4 separate regions of the Homo sapiens genome follow, and regions 2, 3 and 4 are each linked to region 1. Evidence: promoter capture Hi-C in human tissues and cell types (Jung and others, 2019). All regions are on one chromosome and are shown on one strand. Each heading gives the region's core, a stretch centred on a gene start or on the middle of the fragment in contact. The rest is flanking DNA. Distances are from core to core; before and after follow the strand shown. Region 1 holds the start of TLCD2 (TLC domain containing 2). Region 2 overlaps SMG6 (SMG6 nonsense mediated mRNA decay factor). Region 3 overlaps METTL16 (methyltransferase 16, RNA N6-adenosine). Region 4 has its middle 13 kb from the start of ABR-AS1.

What was found. The method cuts DNA at HindIII sites, captures the fragments that hold promoters and counts their contacts. A contact is called where the count stands out against the background at its distance.
Region 2: a fragment that was not itself captured here is called in contact with the fragment with the promoter of TLCD2 in region 1 in 1 of the 25 tissues and cell types used here (dorsolateral prefrontal cortex).
Region 3: a contact is called between a fragment that was not itself captured here and the fragment with the promoter of TLCD2 in region 1, in 1 of the 25 tissues and cell types used here (H1 embryonic stem cells).
Region 4: a contact is called between a fragment that was not itself captured here and the fragment with the promoter of TLCD2 in region 1, in 1 of the 25 tissues and cell types used here (dorsolateral prefrontal cortex).

What each region holds. Positions count from the first base shown.
Region 1 is chr17:1,708,592-1,711,626 of GRCh38, reverse strand. It overlaps TLCD2 (TLC domain containing 2), which reads left to right and starts at 1,250. Exons shown (of 4, transcript NM_001164407.2): 1 at 1,250-1,560; 2 at 1,741-1,823; 3 at 2,046-2,128. The coding sequence starts at 1,385. MIR22HG (MIR22 host gene) reads left to right here. Exons shown (of 3, transcript NR_028505.2): 3 at 1-123. The HindIII fragment of the contact is 13,317 bases long and covers 1-3,035 here.
Region 2 is chr17:2,221,422-2,224,434 of GRCh38, reverse strand. All of the region lies in intron 10 of SMG6 (SMG6 nonsense mediated mRNA decay factor), which reads left to right. Among named protein-coding and RNA genes, the nearest start is that of SMG6, 81 kb to the left of the region's middle. The HindIII fragment of the contact is 7,215 bases long and covers 1-3,013 here.
Region 3 is chr17:2,482,747-2,485,537 of GRCh38, reverse strand. All of the region lies in intron 2 of METTL16 (methyltransferase 16, RNA N6-adenosine), which reads left to right. Among named protein-coding and RNA genes, the nearest start is that of METTL16, 28 kb to the left of the region's middle. The HindIII fragment of the contact is 4,445 bases long and covers 1-2,791 here.
Region 4 is chr17:1,193,599-1,196,613 of GRCh38, reverse strand. It overlaps a transcript of ABR not described here. Among named protein-coding and RNA genes, the nearest start is that of ABR-AS1, 13 kb to the right of the region's middle. The HindIII fragment of the contact is 6,525 bases long and covers 1-3,015 here.

The DNA.
Region 1 (3,035 bases), core at 1-2,500:
AAAAATGTTGAGTGGTTATCTTTGTATGGTGGAACAAAGTCACTGTAATTTTCATCTTTGGTTTTTCTGTAATTTCCAAATTTTCCACATTTTGTATTTCATATAATATAATTTAAGAGATCAGTGTTATTATTTAAACCTTTGGAGAGGTGGGGGTAGAAGAATGAAGGGAAGACCTCAGCTTTTTGGTGAGAAGGTTTGGTTGGGGCACCTCTTGGTTTATGAACTTAATTCTTTGAAGTAGCTGGAATCCTCCCTCTCAGCCTGCAGGAAACAGCTCTGACTTGCTGACTGTCTGCCAGCTGAAGAGGTGGAGTGGAGTAAGGTGGAAGGAAAGCAGTGCAACCTGGGGCTCTTCAGGTGGTGAGGGGCTGGGGGAGGCTCTTCCTCTTAAGGCTGGAGGGTTCTGGAATCCTAACCGCCCTGCTACTAAGAGCAGGACAGGTCTGTTTTTCTCTTCTGACTCTGTCCCAGCCTTGAAGGGACCCTGTGTTACCTTTCCTTGCCCTCGGATTGAAGATATTCTACCCACCCAACGGGTACCAAGCCCTTGGGGAAGGAAGTGCTTTTCAAGACTGGGGGCCAGCGATTCCCTTTTGCGTCCTCTTCCTAATGAGGCTCCTCCGTAGGGCCGAAAACAATGCTGGGGGTCGGGGCGGGGCCCAGTGGGTCGCTTCTCCAACATGGGGTCTCCTGGGGGTTGTGGGGGAGGGGGAGCAGAACTGCTGGAATTACAGGTTTGCCGGGATATGGTAAAGGCGTGGAAACCTCAGGAGGCCGAAGGGGTGGCTCCAAGAAAGTGGGGCACCCCGTCCCCACCACGGACGCGGGGAGGGAAGTGGGGGCGGCGGCCAGGCTCGGGCAGGTACGAGTGGGCTGCGCTAGCCTCTGCCTTGCAGGGTGTGGCGGTGGGTGGTGATGACGCTCAGCAGGTGAAAGTCGCGGGAGCCGGGAAGAGGTCAAGGTTCGTGGGTGGGGCCCGGGAGTGTCAGTTGAGGTTAGACTGGAGACCCAGGTCTGCAACTCCAGCGCTTCAGGACGCTTGGAGCTGGGGAGGACCCCTATTGGCGAACATCCCGGAGGCCCCCCGAGCTCCAGGGCATGGTCTACTGCCCGGAGCCCCCGAACCGCTCCCCCGGCTGGAGCAAGACGCAATCGGTGGCCAAGGCTCCGGGGGCGGCGGCCCCGCGGCTGCTCCAATCACCGCCCAGGCGAGGGACTGGGCGTGGACGAACGGGGAAAAGTTCCTGCTGATCCCAAAGGCGCGGCGGGGAGGGGAGCCGGGGCCCCAGCCCTGCCGGGAAACGGGTTCCCAGTCCCGGCCGAGAGCGCGGGCGCCGAGGGGACCGACCCGGACTCCCCGCAACCCCCCAACCGCCAGGCCATGGCGCCCACGGGGCTCCTGGTGGCCGGCGCCTCCTTCCTCGCGTTCCGGGGGCTGCACTGGGGGTTGCGGCGGCTGCCCACGCCGGAATCGGCCGCTCGGGACCGCTGGCAGTGGTGGAACCTCTGCGTCTCCCTGGCGCACAGCCTGCTCTCGGGGACCGGGGCGCTGCTCGGGTGCGGGCTTGGGGGCTCGAGGCGCACGGGGCGAGGGCGAGGGGTGGGAGGCTGAGGCCGGGAGACCCGCCGGGCGTCTCCAGAGCTGAGACTGGGGTGGGGGTGCGCACAGGGAGACTGCGGCCGGGGCCTCGAGAGGCTGACCATGCCCCCCCCCATGTCCCCACCCCATGCCCCCAGCCTGTCACTGTACCCTCAGATGGCCGCCGACCCCATCCATGGCCACCCGCGCTGGGCTCTGGTGCTGGTGGCTGTGTCTGTGGGTGAGTCTGCAGGGAAGGCTGGGCCGGTGGTGGGGATGGGGCGGGGGGCAGGTTCTGCTGTCCTTCCAGGTCCATTCCCCGCCCCCATGGGGGTTAAACGTTCCTGAAGGCTTTACCAAGGGAAAACTAAGAACTGGGAGAGGGGCGGGGCGGGGGGGCTGGAAATCCTCTCTAAGCTGCCCGGGCTCTGGAGCAGCCTAACCCCTACCCCCATGCCCACAGGTTACTTCCTGGCAGACGGAGCTGACCTGCTGTGGAACCAGACCTTGGGCAAGACCTGGGATCTTCTCTGTCATCATTTGGTGGTGAGACTCTGAGGGCAGAAGCCAGACAGGAAGGGAGGAGGGGAGCCCTGTCCAGCCCGAGGTTCCCAGTCTCTCCTCATTCTTTTTTTTTTTTTTTTTTTTTTTTTTTGAGACGGAGTCTCACTCTGTCACCCAGGCTGGGGTCCAGTGGTTCGGCCTCTGTTCACTGCAACCTTCGCCTCCTGGGTTCAAGCAATTCTCCTGCCTCAGCCTCCCACGTAGCTGGGATTACAGGCACCCGCCACCACGCCCAAGTAATTTTTTGTATTTTTAGTAAAGACGGGGTTTCTCCATGTTGGCCAGGCTGGTCTCGAACTTCTGACCTCAGGTGATCCGCCCACTTCAGCCTTCCAAAGTGCTGGGATTACAAGCATGAGCCACCGCCCCCGGCCCTCTCTTCATTTTGCTGTCCTATAATTTCCCACAGTCTCTGCCCCCAGCTGGTGCTTGGCTCCCAGTCTTAGGCTGAGTTAGGGGGAGGAGGTGGCTGCTGGCCACAGCTGGGGAGTCCAGATACCCACCAGGCCAGGGCACCTACCATGCCAGGGCACTCACCATACAAGGGCACCCACCATGCCAGGGCACCCACCATGTGAGCCTAAGGAGTTTGGGTGCCCCCACAGGTGTCCAGCTGATCACAGAAATGTGGAATATGGAGCTTTTCTGAGAAGGGGGTGTCCTGGTATAGGGTGTGGGTATGGGGCATGAAAGCCCTAGGCCAGGCACGGTGGCTTATGCCTATAATCCCAGCACACTGGGAGGCCGAGGCGGGTGGATCACGAGGTCAGGAGATCGAGACCATCCTGACTAACAGTGAAACCCCGTCTCTACTAAAAATACAAAAATTACCTGGGTGTGGTGGCGCGCACCGGTAGTCCCAGCTACTCTGGAAGCTGAGGCAGGAGAA
Region 2 (3,013 bases), core at 395-2,894, 510 kb before region 1:
CCATATATTTTTTAAATCAAATCTGCTTTGACTTTCTTTATGGTTTCTTATTTCCCAAATATACTTGTGAGCTTGTCTTTTATTTCTCTAAAATATATTCAACATGGCATTTTAGAGACTCCATAATCTGAAATGGTGTATTTGGGGTGTAGCCTTGTGGGACCCTAGCTTTATGATAAGGATCTTGGCTGTGTCCATGCAGCCTTGGAAAGCAAAGCTCGAGTTCATCAGGTAGCAAATGTTCTTAGGGTAAAGGCTGTTTGTAATGCCACACTTACCTATCTGGTTTCCCATCTTTATTCAATCTCTGACCAAAGGATTTTCTTTTATTTTACTAGCTCACGAATGCTTTTCAAAAAGATGTTTAACATACTCTTTTTTTCAGAATAATGAGCTGTTTGATTGGGAGAATGGATCTAGGTGTCTAGTCTGCCGTACTACCAGAGGAAGCTGGGATTTCCTTGTTCCATCAGACTTACTCAGACTTTCTTTCTTTTCTTTTCTTTTTTTTTGCTCTGCCTGTGATGCCCATGAGCAGTGTGACTGGGCACCTACATCCAGGGTGGCAAGGGCATGTAGTTTGCTCTTCCAAAGATTAGTTTCTTTTCCAGCTCCTGCCCATTTACAGCTCAGTCTTATGGCAAATGGTGTCATTGGGCTCACATTTTTTCATTTTTCCAAGAGGTGTCCAGTGTATAGAATATCACTTAGAGGGCTAATTGGGTGGGGAAGAAAGATCAAAGGAGTGGAGAGGAAAGGCTGCAGCTGAAGTGATAGGAGCCATTTATTGACAAAAAGATGTGAGTTAGAGATTTGGAAAAGAGTACTCTGTTGTTTCAGCTACATCACATTATATATCTGGTGAACCTTGCTGGCCCATGAAATCCTTTCCATTAGTCAGGGTTCTCTGTGCTTTTGTTCTTGACTACTGCTGTTCTTAGTGCTATTCGGTTTGCTTGTATGTCTCAGTTTCCTTTTCAGAAGGCAGATTGTCGTCTATTTAGGAATGCATTTACTGTAATTGGAGTGTTCTGGCTTGTTTAGTCCCCTCTTCAAATATAAGACTCATATCTTGAAGCTTATGTTCAGAAAATATGCGCGTGTGATCCCTTTGCCCCAAGTGCCAACAGCAGATGTAGCAGTTGACACGCTGCAGGGAATTTCCAACTGCTGGGCAGGTTTCTGAAATCCGGACACGTGCTGTTCACACTTTGGCTTCTGAGGCAAGGATCAGTGGTTGAAAGAGGGGAGGAGCTGGCAGGGGACTGCAGGGAGAAAGATCTTATAATGCCTGCCCAGGGCTTTAGGCTGTGTCAGCTTTCTGCATCTCTTCTCCAGCTGGAGCTGGCAGGGTCGAATAAATCACTGCAGAGTAGTTATGAGCCCAGCTCACCAGGGACTTCTTTGAGGCACACCTGTGACGTCATCCTGTTATCACTGTCTGTTCCACATAACCTCTTTTCACCTCTCCCCTGAGAGAGGGTGATGCCCAGAACTCATGTCAGGGCAATGAGCAGAGGAAAATGTTTCGTAAGTATTATTTTTCAGATGCCTGCTAGGGATACAGTTGTAGGCCATTGACACATTCTTCAATATTCCTCATTGGAAGAGAAAACCTGTGTTTGCAAACATGGCCTGAATACCCCTTGTGGATAAAACTTCTTTTTAAACTTGGAAAGAAAGTCTTGAAACTCCTAAGTGGTCTCTTTTTGTACCCCTTACCTCTCTCGTTCCTTCCCAAACATGCACACACAGACACATTACATACAGAGTCTGCTGTGTTCAAAATCCTTCACTGACTTCCCATTTCACTCAGTGTAAAAGCCACATTATTTACAAGGCCTTCATATATGGACCTCTTCTCCTGCCCCCCCCCCCCCCCCCCGCCCCCGCATTGCCTCTCTCTGAGCTCATTCACGACTGTTCTCCCCATGGCTTGGTTACTCTGCTTCAGCCACACTACCCTTCTTGCAAGTTCTCTGCTAAGCTGGGGACTCTCCCACCTTTGGCCCTTCGCATTAGCTGTTTTCTCTGTTTGGAATGTTCTGCATCCAGCCATCTGTCTGGTGAATACCTCGCCTCCTATAAGTCTTTGCTTAATGTTACTTCTGTGAGACCTGCCCCAACCATCCTATTTAACACTGCTGCATTCTACTCCAAACCTGCACTCTTTATCTTCCAATTCTATTGATTTATTTTCTAAATACTAGATAATTAATGTGTATATGTTTATTATTTATTTTCCTCTACTATTCTGCAAGAATGTAAGCTCCCTGCTTATAGGGGTCTCTGGTCTGTTTTATCCACTGATACATTGTGAACATCTAAAACAGTCCCTGACCTGTTGTAACTTCTCAGTAAACATGCGTTATATCAAGTTCAAGTCAAAGAATAATTTGAGGCCAGGTGCCGTGGCCGACGTCTGTAATCCCAGCTCTTTGGGAGGCCAGTGCAGGTGGATCACTTGAGCTCAGGAATTCAAGACCAGCCTGGCCAACATGGCGAAACCCTGTCTTTACTAAAAAATACAAAAATTAGCCAGGCATGGTAGTAATCCCAGCTACTTGGGAGGCTGAGGCAGGAGACTGGCGTTAACCCGGGAGGTGGAGCTTGCAGTGAGCCGAGATCACCCCATTGCACTCCAGCCTGGGCAACATTGCAAGACTCCGTCTCAAAAAAAAGAATAATCTGTCAGCAGGTCAGCCTGGACAATGAAGATTGAATGGCAAGGGCAGGGGCATCTGTTAACTAGGTTACTGCTCATAATCTTACTGTCTTTCCTTGTTTTTTGTTAAGGTGACTTTCTTGAAAGCATAATTTCCAAATGCATATTTTACATCTGGCATTAAAGTAAAATCCATTAAATGTGCTTTGGTATCTACTGTTGTATTAATCCTTTCTCATACTGCCATAAAGACATACCTGAGGCTGGGTAATTTATAAAGAAAAGAAGTTTAATTGGCTCATAGTTCCACAGGCTGTACAGGAAACATGGCTAGGGAGGCCTCAGGAG
Region 3 (2,791 bases), core at 262-2,761, 770 kb before region 1:
ACTTTCTTTACAATTCTACTGTTTACAATTGAGTAGAGCAGTGGTCTCCAACCTTTTTGGCACCAGGGACCAGTTTCACGGATGACAATTTTTTCATGGACCTGTGGTGGGGGAGGGGTGATTTCGGGATGATTCAAGCGCATTACATTTATTGTACATTTATTACGTTGTATTATTTCATGTAATGAAATAATTATACAACTCACCATAGTGTAGAATCAGCTTGTTTTCCCGCAGCTTGTTTCCCCTCAGCTAGACGGTCCCATATGGGGGTGATGGGAGACAGTGACAGATCATCAGGCTTTAGATCCTCAAGGAGTGCTCAACCTAGATCCCTCGCATGCGGCGTTCCCAGGAGGGTTCACGCTCCTGTGAGAATCTAATGCTGCGCTGATCTGACAGGAGGCGGAGCTGAGGCAGTAATGTGAGCAATGGAAAGTGGCTGTAAATTCAGATGAAGCTTTGCTTGCCTCTCACCTCCTGCTGTGCGGCACAAGTCCTAACAGGCCAGGGACCAATATCAGTCCATGGCCCAGGGGTTGGGGACTCCTGTAATAGAGGGTGCGGCCCATTAGCCTGTGAATTGTATAAGGCTTGCAGTTATTATTTATTGCCCATATTAATCTTAAGAATCAGATCCATTTCATATGAAAACATGGATCACTGGTTTTGTTTGAAAGTATTAGAGAGCTGGCAAAACCGGGCTGGCAAATCCACACAACATTAACTACTTAGAGTGGTGGTCACCAGGCGCGGTGGCTCACACCTGTAATCCCAGCACTTTGGGAGGCCGAGGCAGGCAGTATGCCTGAGGTCAGGAGTTCAAGACCAGCCTGGCCAACATGGCGAAACCCCGTCTCTACTAAAAATACAAAATTAGCCGGGCATGGTGGTACATGTCTGTAGTCCTATCTACTCAGGAGGTTGAGGCAGAAGAGTCGCCTGAAGCCGGGAGGTGGAGGTTGCAGTGAGCTGATATTGCGCCATTGAACTCCAGGCTGGGCGACAAGAACGAAACTTCGTCTCAAAAAAAAAAAAAGAACAGAGTAGTGGTCATAACCTTTGAAATGGTCATTTGTGGCATCTGGCATAGTGCTACTAAAAGTGGTTATTGAACTGGCTGCTTAACCACAGACTATTTGTTACTGTCCACAGAGATAAGGACCTTGTGCCGTATGTTTAGGTTACCTCACATTTCTTTGGTTTAATTGACTTTTTAATGTGTTGTTTACATTCTGGCACAAGCTCTTTATCTTGTCAGGGACTGGCATTTTGAGTAGTACCAATAGCTATTCCTTATAAATATTTTGAAACCCCTGATTTTCACAATTACTTTGAAATGCCAGTGCAAAATAGCAATACTTTTGTTACTATTTACTGCCCTTAGATAATACTCTTTATCAAGCTTATTTTATAAGTAAGTTACTAAGTTTCTTTAATAGAGATTTTTCTGAAAACTTTTTTCTCCTCAAATTCCTTTTACCATGAAATTTTACGTTTGAGATATTAAGCCTTTGAACATAGACATGGGATATTTTTCCTTTTGTGTGTTTAGCAGTGAAATTTAGTTAATAGGTCAGGCTACCATTCTCGAGTTAAAGACACGAATGTGTTTGAATGCCTTAGCATGGTACTTAGATGTGAACTTCTTCGTCATATGTAAAACTTGACTTTCATTCCTATGTCATTGAAGGAAATGGAATTGGCCCATTTTTCTCACACACTTGACTGATTTCACAGGAATAAAATATTCTCGTTAGAAGTAAAACTGAAGTGCTTATAGATTTTATACCTTTTTATTGCTCATCATTTATCTTGTTGATCCTGAGTTTATACTGCTTTTAGTCGAGTAAGAAATACAAAGATAGTGCAAATCTTTTTTTTATGTGAAAATTGATTGAGGCCATTGCGTGCTATTGAGTAAAGCAGAAATGTGTTCGTGGTTGTTGCCCCTGGATTAACCCTCTTTTATTAGCCCCCATAAATGACAAAATTAATACATATCCAATTCTGATGTCTAAGAATAAACTTAATACCCCTTTAAATAGACTTAATGTATTTTAATGAGACTTTTAATTGCTAGCATATATTTATGCAATAAACTTCTGCTTCCACTGTCCTATAGAAGCTGTTCTTTAAAACCAACACCCACAGAAATGGAGTCAGTCACTTTTTAAAGTTATTATTCTCTTGACCTCCATCAGCATTTTATATTTTTAACCCATTCTACATAGTTGCTCATTTAATCCTTTTGATCCAAAAATTAAGGTTGTCTGTTGTGAAATAACTCCTATTTTCATTTTTATTTGTAGTTGTCTGGGATACTTTTGGTTAAGCTTTTATTTTCAACCTTTGGATCATTTTGTTTTAGCCGTAGTTTTTGTTTAAAACAGTTTATTGTAATTAGTTGGTTTTGTCTTTTGTAATCTAATCTGAGAGTATTATGAGTTTACTATTTACATTCATTTCACATTCATTTTATATCATGCTTTGTTCTTGCTGCTTTTTTTTTTTAACACTATATGATCTGATTTTCACCTACCTTTCCTTTACTGCCCCTGATTTTATTTGATTATATTATTTATCTTCATTCTTCTAGTGTTAATATTATTATTATTATTATTTTTGAGACAGGGTCCCACTCTGTCACCCAGGCTGGAGTGCAGTGATGGGATCTTGGCTCACTGCAGCCTTGATCTCCTGGGCTCAAGTGATCCTCCTGCCTCCTGCGTAGCGGGGACCGCAGGCTCACACAACCACCATACTCCACATCCAGCTAATTTTTGTACTA
Region 4 (3,015 bases), core at 225-2,724, 520 kb after region 1:
TCAGAAAGTTCTGTGTGTGTGGCTGCTCTTTGGTAAGCCCAGGGCAACAGAGTCATCAACATTTAGGGAGGGGGTGGGTGAGGCAGGATGTAGAGTTAATACCCAGTTTTGTCCTATGTTCCTCTGAGAAGTTAGCTAAGAAATCTTTTCTAAATTAAATTTAATTAATTAATTTGTTTTTTGGGCCAGAGTTTTCACTCTTGTCACCCAGGCTGGAGTGCAGTGGTGTGATGTCAGCTCACTGTGACCTCCACCTCCTGGGTTCAAGTGATTCTCCTGCCTCAGCCTCCCGAGTAGCTGGGATTACAGGCACGTGCCACCATGCCCAGCTAATTTTTGTATTTGTAGTAGAAAGAGGGTTTCGCCATGTTGGCCAGGCTGGTCTTGAACTCCTGACCTCAGGTGATCCGCCTGCCTCGGCCTCCCAAAGTGCCGGGATTATAGGCGTGAGCCACCGCACCTTGCCTATTTTTTTTTTTTTTTTTGAGACAGAATCTCGCTCTGTTGCTCAGGCTGGAGTGCAGTGTCGTGATCTCGGCTCACTGCAACCTTCTCCTTCTTGGTTCAAGCGATCCTCGTGCCTCAGCCACCTGAGTACCTGGGATTACAGGCACCTGCTACCATGCCTGGCTAATTTTTGTATTTTTAGTAGAGATGGGGTTTTGCCATGTTGCCCAGGCTCGTCTCGCACTCCTGACCTCAAGTGATCCCTGACCTCAAGTGATCTCTCCCCACAATCCCAACTTGCCTTCCCAAAGTTCTGGGATTACAGGCGTGAGCCACCGCGCCGGCCAATAATTTTTTTTTTTTGAGACAGAGTCTCGCTCTGTTGCGCAGGCTGGAGTGCAGTGACACGATCTCGGCTCACTGCAACCTTTGCCTCCCGGGTTCACACCATTCTCCTGCCTCAGCCTCCTGTGTAGCTGGGACTACAGGCGCCCACCACCACGCCCGGCTAATTTGTTGTATTTTTAGTAGAGACGGGGTTTCACCGTGTTAGCCAGGATGGTCTCGATCTCCTGACCTCGTGATCCACCCGCCTCGGCCTCCCACAGTGCTGGGATGACAGGCGTGAGCCACTGCCCAGCCAATAATTTTCTTTAAAATGCTCCTTACGCTACTTGCTGAGCCTGGGTCAGGCAGGGCTGGGGGCTGCCTTTGGGAGAGAGATACACCAGAGACTAGTTAATCACTGTAGCAGTAGAAAACACCCTTAAGGGCCGGGCCTGATGGCTCACGCCTGTAATCCCAGCACTTGGAGAGGCCAAGGTGGGAGGATCCTTTGAGGCCAGGACTTTTTTTTTTTTTTGAGACAGTCTCATTCTGTCGCCCAGGCTGGAGTGCTGTGGCGCGATCTCCGCTCACTGCAAGCTCCGCCTTCCGGGTTCACGCCATTCTCCTGCCTCAGCCTCCCGAGTAGCTGGGACTACAGGCGCCCGCCACTGCGCCCGGCTAATTTTTTGTATTTTTAGTAGAGACGGGGTTTCACCGTGTTAGCCAGGATGGTCTCGATCTCCTGACCTCGTGATCCGCCCGCCTCGGCCTCCCAAAGTGCTGGGATTACAGGCGTGAGCCACCGCGCCTGGCCTGAGGCCAGGACTTCAAGAGCAGCCTGGGCAACATAGTGAGGTTCTGTCTGTACAAAATTAAAAAAAAAATTAGGGTCGGGCGCGGTGGCTCACACCTGTAATTCCAGCACTTTAGGAGGCCGAGGTGGGTGAATCACCTGAGTCAGGAGTTCGAGACCAGTCTGGCCAACATGGCGAAACCCTGTCTCTACTAAAAATACAAAATTTTTAGGGCATGGTGGCACATGCCTGTAATCCCAGCTACTAGGGGGGCTGAGGCAGGAGGATTGCTTGAACCCGGGAGGTGGAGGTTGCAGTGAGCTGAGACCGCACCACTGCACTCCAGCCTGGGCAACAGAGCGAGACTCCATCTTAAAAAAAAAAAAATTAGCTGGGTGTGGTGGTGCATGCCTGTAGTCCTAGCTATGCAAGAAGTTGAGGCAGGGGGATGGCTTGAGCCTGGGAGGTCGAGACTGTAGTGAGCTATGATTGCACCACTACACTCCAGTCTGGGCGATAGAGTGAGACTTGTCTCTAAAAAATAAAGAAGGCTGGGCGAAGTGTCTCACACCTGTAATCCCAGCACTTTGGGAAGACGAGGCAGGCAGATCACCTGAGGTCAGGAGTTGAGACCAGCATGGCCAACATGGTGAAACCCCTCTCTACTAAAAATACAAAACAAAACAAAAAAATAGCTGGGCGTGGTGGCGTGTACCTGTAATCTTAGCTACTTGGGAGGCTGAGGCAAGAGAATTACTTGAACCCGGGAGGCGGAGGTTGCAGTGAGCCAAGATCGTGCCATTGCACTCCAGCCTGGGCGACAGAGAGAGACTCTGTCTCAATCAATCAATCAAAATATAAATAAATAAAAAAAAACAAAGGAAACACCCTTGCCACCAGAGATCCTCCAGGTACAAACCTCATGTTCAAGGAGAAATCAAAAGACCCAGGAGCTTGTCAGATTTCAGTAGAGGAGAAAGAGGATGGAAATTCATCTTTGTGTCTTCCTTCCTCTGCCACTTCCCCTGGAGAGTAAGCTTTAAGAGCTGCAGTGGCCAGGCGCGGGGCTCACGCCTGTTATCCCAGCACTTTGAGAGGCCAAGGTGGGCAGATCACGAGGTCAGGAGATCAAAACCATCCTGGCTAACACGGTGAAACCCCGTCTCTATTAAAAATACAAAAAAAAAATTAGCTGGGCGTGGTGGCGGGTGCCTGTAGTCCCAGTTATTCAGGAGGCTGAGGCAGGTGAATCGCTTCAACCTGGGAGGCGGAGGATGCAGTGAGCCGAGATTGTGCCACTGCACTCCACACTCCAGCCTGGGGGACAGAGGGAGACTCTATCTCAAACATAAAAACACACAAACAAAAAGGGCTGCACTGATGTGCTTGAATTAGCGTCAGTTGCCAGTACTCCCTGGCGTGCTGGAAACCGAGCTCTTCCTGAGTG